Linked DNA regions of Homo sapiens: regions 1 and 2 are each linked to region 3. Evidence: promoter capture Hi-C in 16 types of primary human blood cells and fetal thymus (Javierre and others, 2016). All regions are on one chromosome and are shown on one strand. Each heading gives the region's core, a stretch centred on a gene start or on the middle of the fragment in contact. The rest is flanking DNA. Distances are from core to core; before and after follow the strand shown. Region 1 overlaps NOTCH2 (notch receptor 2). Region 2 has its middle 42 kb from the start of HSD3B1. Region 3 holds the start of HMGCS2 (3-hydroxy-3-methylglutaryl-CoA synthase 2).

The links. Contacts are between HindIII fragments. The CHiCAGO score rates a contact against its expected background, and 5 or more counts as called.
Region 1: a fragment that was not itself captured here is called in contact with the fragment with the promoter of HMGCS2 in region 3 in 1 of 17 cell types (M0 macrophages); the score reaches 5.9 in M0 macrophages.
Region 2: a fragment that was not itself captured here is called in contact with the fragment with the promoter of HMGCS2 in region 3 in 2 of 17 cell types (M1 macrophages and M0 macrophages); the score reaches 6.1 in M1 macrophages.

Annotation. Positions count from the first base shown.
Region 1 is chr1:119,935,801-119,938,693 of GRCh38, forward strand. It overlaps NOTCH2 (notch receptor 2), which reads right to left. Exons shown (of 34, transcript NM_024408.4): 20 at 2,057-2,210; 21 at 1,482-1,666. Among named protein-coding and RNA genes, the nearest start is that of ADAM30, 41 kb to the left of the region's middle. RefSeq lists an enhancer at 440-1,165. The HindIII fragment of the contact is 1,189 bases long and covers 861-2,049 here.
Region 2 is chr1:119,547,366-119,550,065 of GRCh38, forward strand. No RefSeq gene overlaps it. Among named protein-coding and RNA genes, the nearest start is that of HSD3B1, 42 kb to the left of the region's middle. RefSeq lists an enhancer at 2,321-2,615. The HindIII fragment of the contact is 5,511 bases long and covers 1-2,700 here.
Region 3 is chr1:119,767,648-119,770,347 of GRCh38, forward strand. It overlaps HMGCS2 (3-hydroxy-3-methylglutaryl-CoA synthase 2), which reads right to left and starts at 1,258. Exons shown (of 10, transcript NM_005518.4): 1 at 1,094-1,258. The coding sequence starts at 1,197. RefSeq lists a silencer at 839-1,133. The HindIII fragment of the contact is 4,165 bases long and covers 1-2,700 here.

The sequences.
Region 1 (2,893 bases), core at 205-2,704, 170 kb after region 3:
TACCTACTCCTCTTTCAGTTGAAAAAGGCACTTTAAAGGGAAGGCAAGGACTGAATACAATGAAGGATGTTTCAGATTTGACTTGTGTGCAAACCTTTTGTTCCTCCTGGGTACAGGTTTCCTCATCTTTAAAATACACATTCCTCCGTATGTGATGAGGACCCTATGACTCGGTCAAAAGGCATATGTGGATGGTAGTACAGACATGCAATTATTGATCTCCAGGTTTAGGAAATTGGATCTATGTGTGAGAAACTGGTTGAGATAGGCTTAGGGGTAGAGGGAGGTGGGGCTGGCTGGCTGGCTGTGGTGGCTGTAGGGGTTGGAAGGATTTCAGGGCTGACCAAGAAAAAAGATATGGCTGTGAGGTGGCTTTATTTGGACACTTTGACAGGTTTGCACCTGGGAGAAGTCCCAAATAGCATGAGACCTTCCAGAGGGGTAGGTGAGTAAGGGGAAGACAGCAAGTAAACTCTGGGAAAGAAGGATCAGAGAAGGAGTCTAGGTGATGTCACTCAACAGCCAGTGGCAGGAATCTCTGGGTCAGAGAGCTCTAAAGGCCAGCATCAGCCTGGGGTCTGTATGGCCCCAGGGTATATCTTGTCCTACTTATACTATGGCTAGCAGATTTTGGCTGCAGTTTTACAGGCTATGCAAAGCAGGCAAGCTCTAAATAGCTAAAAATCTGCTTATTTGGGGGCTATGTTTAAAACAACTAGATGTGTCAAAATTTGGGTTTGGCACTGGTAGGCTTTTGAGCTAATGAGACCCAGCCCCAGCCTGCTGTGAAGAAATAAACAACCTAGGGGCCAAAATACAGAAGCTATCGTTGGCTCATTTATATAACAATAGAGAAGCAAAGCTTTTCTCAGTGTTGCTTGATGGTTTGAATTGGTATCAAATTAATGTCTCAGGCATTTTGCTAATATCTTGCTTGCTCTAACCATTATCAGCCCAGACATTAAAATAGTGACATGTACCTTGAAGACACATACTTCCTCAAATATATACATGTAACGTTTAGCATGATGCTATGGGGAACAGGATGAGCAACATTTTTTTTTTTTGAGAGAAAATTGCTAGTTGACTGATTAATGACTAAATACAAAGGTGACAGGGGCCAAAGGGACACTCCACAAAGCAGTTTTTCCTATCTCAGCTGCTATTCAGGGAAGTGTGGACTGCTATGTTGGGTGGGCCTGTAAAATGCACTCTGGTAGTGACTCTTGGCTCTGAATCCTAAAAGCAAGCCTAAGGAGCTGGGATGGTTCCAGACGCCTATAAAAATATCATACTAGGGACCTGTTAACTTATTGCACAGAGAGGCTGAAAGAAACAGTGGTAAACATTATGACGGGGATTGGTAAAAATCTATAAACTATCAATATAAGATACAAGCAGCTAAATTCAATATATCAGTGCTCAAACAGTTGTACAATCTCCTGGGAGGTCCATGACCTCTGCTTGCTCAGTGTCCTCACCTCGCATCTGTATCCACCAATGAAGTCACTGCATGTTGCCCCGTGCTGGCAGGGGTTGGACGCACACTCATCGAGTTGCTCCTCACAGTAGCTCCCAGTATAGCCCAGGGGGCACTGACAGTAATGCGTGTTGCCAGCATTGATGCAGACACCTGAGTGCTGGCACAAGTGTTCAACAAGCACACCTGGGAAACCCAGTGAGGGAGAAATGTCATAGAAGAACATGTGACACATGGGGTTCAAATCAACCAATGAGCAAGTAAATCTAAACTGGCTGACACATCCAATCTTATTCTTAGCCAGTTCTTCACAACCCTCAGTACCAGATGCATATTAAAAATAAACCCTGAAAGTGGAATATACCTTAGTTTCATTTCAAATACATTCTTCTCCGAATCTCTGAACCTATTCCTCTACCCTTACACCTTCTGTCTTGAGCCCTTTCCCCAGAGCCCTGCCCACCCACTACTATCTGCCCTTCCCTCTTATTCCACAAAAAAATGATACCTTCTCTAAATGCCACTGGACAGTCAATACTGCAGTGAATGACCTGAGCCCAAGGGAGCAAAGCTTACCTCTCCTGGAGGCTGCTATGTCACAAGAGACATTGGGCACGTCACAATAGGCACCAGCCCATCCAGATGGACATAGGCACTGGGACTCTGCTTTTTTCTGAACGCAAGTACCTTTGTTTTTACATGGAGACCGACTGCAGAGATTCACCAGGGTCTGAAACAGAGGCAGGGGTGTACATACATCAAAATTCAAATACTAGAAATGAAGAAAAGAAGTTATATTGTGTTACAAGAAATCAAAGAAAAGCAAACTGATTAAAAAGAAAAAGAGCCTTCATCTAGTAAAAGAGCCCTTAAACTAGATTCAGTGTTCCGAGGTACACCTAACCATTTTTACGTACCGTTAAGTCTTCACTTAATGTCATCATTAGGTTCTTGGAAACTGTGACTTTAAGGACAACGATATATAACGAAACCAATTTTACCACAGTCTAATTGATATAAAAAAGAGTTAAGTTCCTCTACTTATTTCTGGTTAAAAAAAAAATCACTAAACTTCAAATTAACACCCACTTCTGATATTAAACATTAAAATAAACAAGCTATACATTCATTTAAGAAATATTAATAAAAACAAGATAATTATTTATCCAATTTTTGGTGAATCCATGAGTAATAGCAGTCCTAGTGGTGGCAGGTCAAGTCAAGGAATAAATGTTTGCAAAGCAAAACCGTCAGCACCTCTTACCACCACACAGCTCAGAAAGCAACACTAACCAATATGGCAGGCTTGCTGGGTGGTTTTGTACCACATTGTTTATTGTTGTGCACTCATATGATTATCATAGGCTTTATGGGTTTTCATTTTATAATAATTGGTATATTCATTCTTTTTTT
Region 2 (2,700 bases), core at 159-2,658, 220 kb before region 3:
CTGTCTCCCTCTGGACCTGGGTATATCACAGCCATGATGAGGGTCACACTCAACATCAAGATGGCTTCTTTCTTACACAGAAAATTTACAGATGATTAACCTCAAAGCACCAAGGGACAGGTGATCAGCACCAGCATCAGGGTGGAATGGCCCTAGGCAGTGGGGTAAAGTGAAAAATGGAACACCCCTCTTGCCCCATCCACTGAACAAAATGCAAGAGCCAGCACCTCTCCAGCTCTTGTAAGGCATGCCCACCATCCATATGTTTATGACAAATAGCATGGGAAGGATAGGAGGGTGGTGGAATCTGGGACAAGAGCCTTTCCCCCTGGTTTTTCAGCCTAGTGAAACCCCACTCCTATTGACCAATGAGGGCAATGTTCACAGAGAAGTGATGGGAAAGATTATACCTCCAATGGGCAGTGAGGGGTGATCACAGAAAGAGAGGAAGAAATTGGATGGGCCAGCAGTCTCAACTGGACAAGCACAAAGGCCTCGGAGTGTTGTGGCCAACAAAATGTGCCATCCCTTCTTACAACTGTGGGTGCCAGGCAGGCAGAGCTCCTGCACCAAGCAAGCCTCGCTGAACCTCACGCCATGCACCACACGGAGGCAGCAAGTCTCGGAGGGAAGAGCAAGGAAGCCTGACCCAGTGGGGATTTTTGGGTCCCTTTCCTCCATCTAGGTGGCTCTGCAGGGTACCTGGCAAGGGAATGAATGAAAACACAGGTAAGTTCTCAGCCACCGGCTTAAGGGCTAGGTGTATATGAATACAGACAATGGAGCTGAGCTGGTCACTGGGAAAAGCCACAGGAACCAGCGGGACTTAAATGAGGCCTTGAATTCCTGGGTCCAGACAGGGGGCACAGCATGGGCAGTGGTGCAGAGGAAGACGAGGGGCATAAGGAGGCCTCCCGTCTGCTGGGAAGCATGTATGGAGGGCAGATGAGGAGCTCAGGTACTTGACAAAAGTTTCCACCACCTGAGAGCCAGGCTCTGAGGGCCAGGATGGGGCTGGGAACCCGTGATGGCCTGCTGAGAACTGGCAGGAAAGTAGCCAGAGGCCAACTTTTATGTGAAATCTCTTGATTTCTAAATATTAGCAACTAACTCTAAATTTTAAAAAACAGCTCAAAGACCTGCTCCAAGAGAGGAATGCGTGGGCTAGTATTCAAAATGTATGTGTAATATTTTATTTCTTAAAAAGTAGGTGGTGAGATGTCAGCAGCAAATCTGTTCATTCTTGGTGAAAAGTCCCAAATATACATTATTATATCGTATTGTCACCTTTTCTGTATATTTAACATAGGTTATAATTTTTTAATAAATTAAATTTGGTGGGGAAAAAACATGCAAACTAACAAAACACATTCACAGGCTGGACCCAGGATTAAGAGCTCTGATTTTCCATTTCTGCTCCCAATCTAGTGGTCCAGTGGGGGAGATAAAATACAAGACATGTTAGGTGCTGTGCATAGTAAATATGCAGAGTGCCATAGAAAGGAAAATGCTTCTGAAGGATCCATTCCCACAGGGGACTCATGGGGTCCTTGCATTTTGGCTGGATATCAAAAGATGGGTAGGATTTCAACAGACAGGAATGTGAGTGAAATTATTCCAGGCAGAGGCAATGCAGTCTGCAAAGACCCAGGTGAGAAAGGGGTCCATTTTAAGCAGCAATGAGACCAGACCAGAAAGCCCAAGGCCAGGGGAGACATGGAAGATACACCTGAAAAAAATGATGGGCACAGGCAGGATCACCTGGGGTCATCCCTGGAGACACCGTGCCTGCTTCCTTCATTGCCCTCAGAGTAGGAATTCTGTGCCCCACACCCCCTTAAAGAAGACTTGACATTCAATTACTTCACATATAACATGGCTCATCTTCTCTCAAAAATTGGACTCTACAGGAAACGAATGTCTCCTTTAGCAATGAATATTGATGGTGATGCTAAAAGCTGGGACATCATTCACTCTGCAATGGGCATTGTTCAGCTGTCCCTGGAAGATTACCTTGGCAGCATGTTGTAGGATGGACTGAAAGAGATGAAGAGGATACTTGAAGAATTTAGGTAAGAAATGAAGGCCTGATTTATGTGTTGGTAACAAAACAGACTACAGGGGCAACTGCGGCAGGCCTGAGACAGAATGGCCGCTAGTTTAGACAGGACTGGGTGTGGGCACAGAATTCCCAAGCACACACTTTCTCAAGCCAGAAACCTGGATGGCAGCCCCCCACTCCGCCCACCTATCATTCAGTGCTACGAACTTTACCTCCACAACACCTCTTGAATATGTCGTCTTCCTCCCTGGTAACATCATTCCTACTCGTACCCCCAACAGGCCTCCTTGTCTTGGAGAATCACCCATGAAACCTATCCTCAGCAGTGTTGCCAGAGTTCTCTCCAAACTAGTCTCACCATGTCACTCCCTTCCTTAAAACCAACCAATAGGGGGAGCCCCAGGACTGTCAGGACGAGCCTGAGAGCCTTAGCAGAACATAGAGGGCCTCTGAAGCCCTGGGCCCTGCCTGACACTCCAGACTAATTCTCACCAATCCCTGCCCTGTCCCCAGATTCTCCTACTTTGTGCCTCAACAATTTTCCAAACTCAGCGCTTCCTGCATGCAGCATGCTTTTATATCCACCCAGGCCGGTGCATGGTGTTCCTTCCGCTTAAAGGGTGCCCAGCTCTCCTGCC
Region 3 (2,700 bases), core at 8-2,507:
AATGGGATTAACTGTGAATATACCAGAAGGGAAATGGGAATGATTCCAAGAGTTTGAACCAAGGGAGTCAGAATGTTGGGGAGGATTGATGTATGTCTTTTGGCTGATGGCCAACTATTGCTATTAAAACAAGAAACCCACATCAATCTCTTCTTCACAAATATAGAAACAGGTTAAATCCTGAGCTGGGACATTTAACCCACATGCAGGGTTTGGCAGTGCATGGGGAGAGTGAGATGATGGTAGCATAATGAAAAATATAAGAAAGCTATGTGCATTTGCCTCTACCATGCACATCTATACACCCAGGTTCCTTGGGTATTTGGCAAGGAAAGACACTAGGTCAAAATCATTTTTCTAAATATTTAGTAGTCATAGAATATAGAGTAAAAATGTAAGGAAATAAAGAACTAGTCCCAATGTGTAGTGGATGGTTTGGGGATTAGACAGAAACACATAGGTGGCTGGGAGCCTGAGGCACTAACGATAGCTGTGTTACCATCATCGCTGACAATGGAAAACATAAGCACTTGAGCCATGTTCAGGGACTATTTACAAAGAAAAGGAGTGTGCATGTTCTTCTTGCAAAGAGCATGTACACATACACACATAAACACACATTTCCCCTTTTCATAAAATTGGAACACAAGGCAAACACAGCTTCTCATCCTCAGTCCATTTCTGATTCTGCTGCAGTGATATAAAGTCACTGGTTTTACTAACACTGCAGTTGGCACAAGGTCCTGTGGTTCTAGGCAGAGGCTAGGGGTGAAGGTGGGAATGGTGGTGTAGAGAGGAAAGCTGTGGCCTGGTACTGATATTTCTACTGCTTCATGCAGCTGGCAGAGTAAAAGTTGCCATTGCTCACAAACACAGCATGTGTCAGAGGTTTGGGCTCTTCTCACTCTACAGCTGAAAGGGATTGTCTGTTTAGAGATGAGGTAACTGAGACCCTTTAAAGTTAACTTGCTTGTCTAAGGCTGCTGTGCACAAGCCTTGCCAAATTTTGAGTGGGATTCTAGTGAGTTTTCCCCAATAGCAGGGAAAAACTATCTTTTACTAGTTACAAGGTGCTTCTCAGAAAGTGACTCACCTTTGGTGGGCTACTGGGAGCAGGCGAGCAGGTGTGAGGGAGGTTTCCTGCACCGCTCTTGTCAGTTGCAGAATGCGCTTCACTGGAGTCAACAGACGCTGCATCTCCAGAGGAGCAAGCAGAAACCCAGCAGTTCAGAAACCCAGCAGAAACCTTGAAAGAGATGCCCAGTGGTGCCCGGCAGGACTTTATAAAGCCCCAAGACTCCTGCCTCCCTAAGCCCCGCCTCTGCTCACCGTGGCTCAGTCTGCTTCTAAAACTGGGTCAAAGGGCTCACTCAGAACACGGGCGAGTCAAAGACAAACAGCATCTCTCCAACATGTACATAGCTGCCCTGCTCCTGAGCATGTGTGGGAATGGCTGGGCATTGTTCCTCCTACTCCATCAGGCTCTGTGGCAGCCTTGATTCTGCCCAGCTACCTAAGCAGGAGGTTATGATGTTCCTTGTTGTATCACATCCCAAGGTAACCCTATGTGTCTTGTTTTAGACCCTGGCTCCTTATCTGTATTACTCTCACTGGGTGTTCCACACTCCTCTCTGTGGTGTTAGTTGTTATTATTTTAATGTGCTATGCATTATAAGAAACATCTTTCTAAACCAAAGGGAAACTCTTTTAATAGTAGCTTTTCAAGGAGTTGGGAGTGAGTGTTGGCACATAGGCCAAGGGCTGGGCGTTAGAGTATGTGGAACCTACTATATTTCTCCTGTTTATTGTCCACCCTTTTACTTGTACAGCTCTACACAATTTCCAAGTGGGATGAAATTAGTGTTGTAGTAAAGGGACAGGAGCCTCAAAGAGGTGACAGTTTGAAGCTCAATCTCCTAAGGAGGAAAGGTTTACTTTATAGATGAGGTCAGAGTTATGTATAAAGGAGTCATTTTCCCAAAGACCTGCAGCTAGGAAGTTGCAGAATGAGAACTCAACCATGTCTTTTGACTCCAGATTCTGGTCCTTCTGCTTTGCTCTTCTACTACTCAATAAAAAGGCTCCTGCCATCTGATTTTCCAAATGAATGTCTCCCTCCACTCCTCCCACAGCACCAATCTTCCTCTACCTTTTGTGAGTCATGCATTCACTCCTTAGTTCATTCAGTCATCCCCATCACCAACCCCCTGTCTAATATGAGTGTGTAGGGAACACAGAAAAGAGCTGGAGTGGTTCCTGCTTTAGGAGGATATAGTTGACTTCATGTTCCTACAGACAGAGAATGTCTAGGTGCCCCCAGCAGTCCAGGATATCTAGGTCTTCCATCTTATCTTTAAATTCTTATCTCCATATATCTTGGTGTGTTGGTGTTCTAACTCAATCTCCTACCTTGCTGTGTCACCTCCTGCTCTTACACTCAGCCTTTTGCAAAGTTCTGTCGTCAGTGAAATTCTTCATTTCCAATCTCTTCTCTGAAATACCTGTTGCTTCTTGTCAATCCAATGCACTTTAAATGCTTACAACAAGGCCTGTGTCCTCTTTGCTTCATACTATCTCTTCCAGGGTATTTCTCCTCTTCCTCCTCTCAAAACCCCTGCTGTCTTAAAGCACATGCTACAGTCTGTGCCACCCAGTGCCCTTATTCTTGCAGTCAACTAACTGTCATGTTCCACTGTCCCT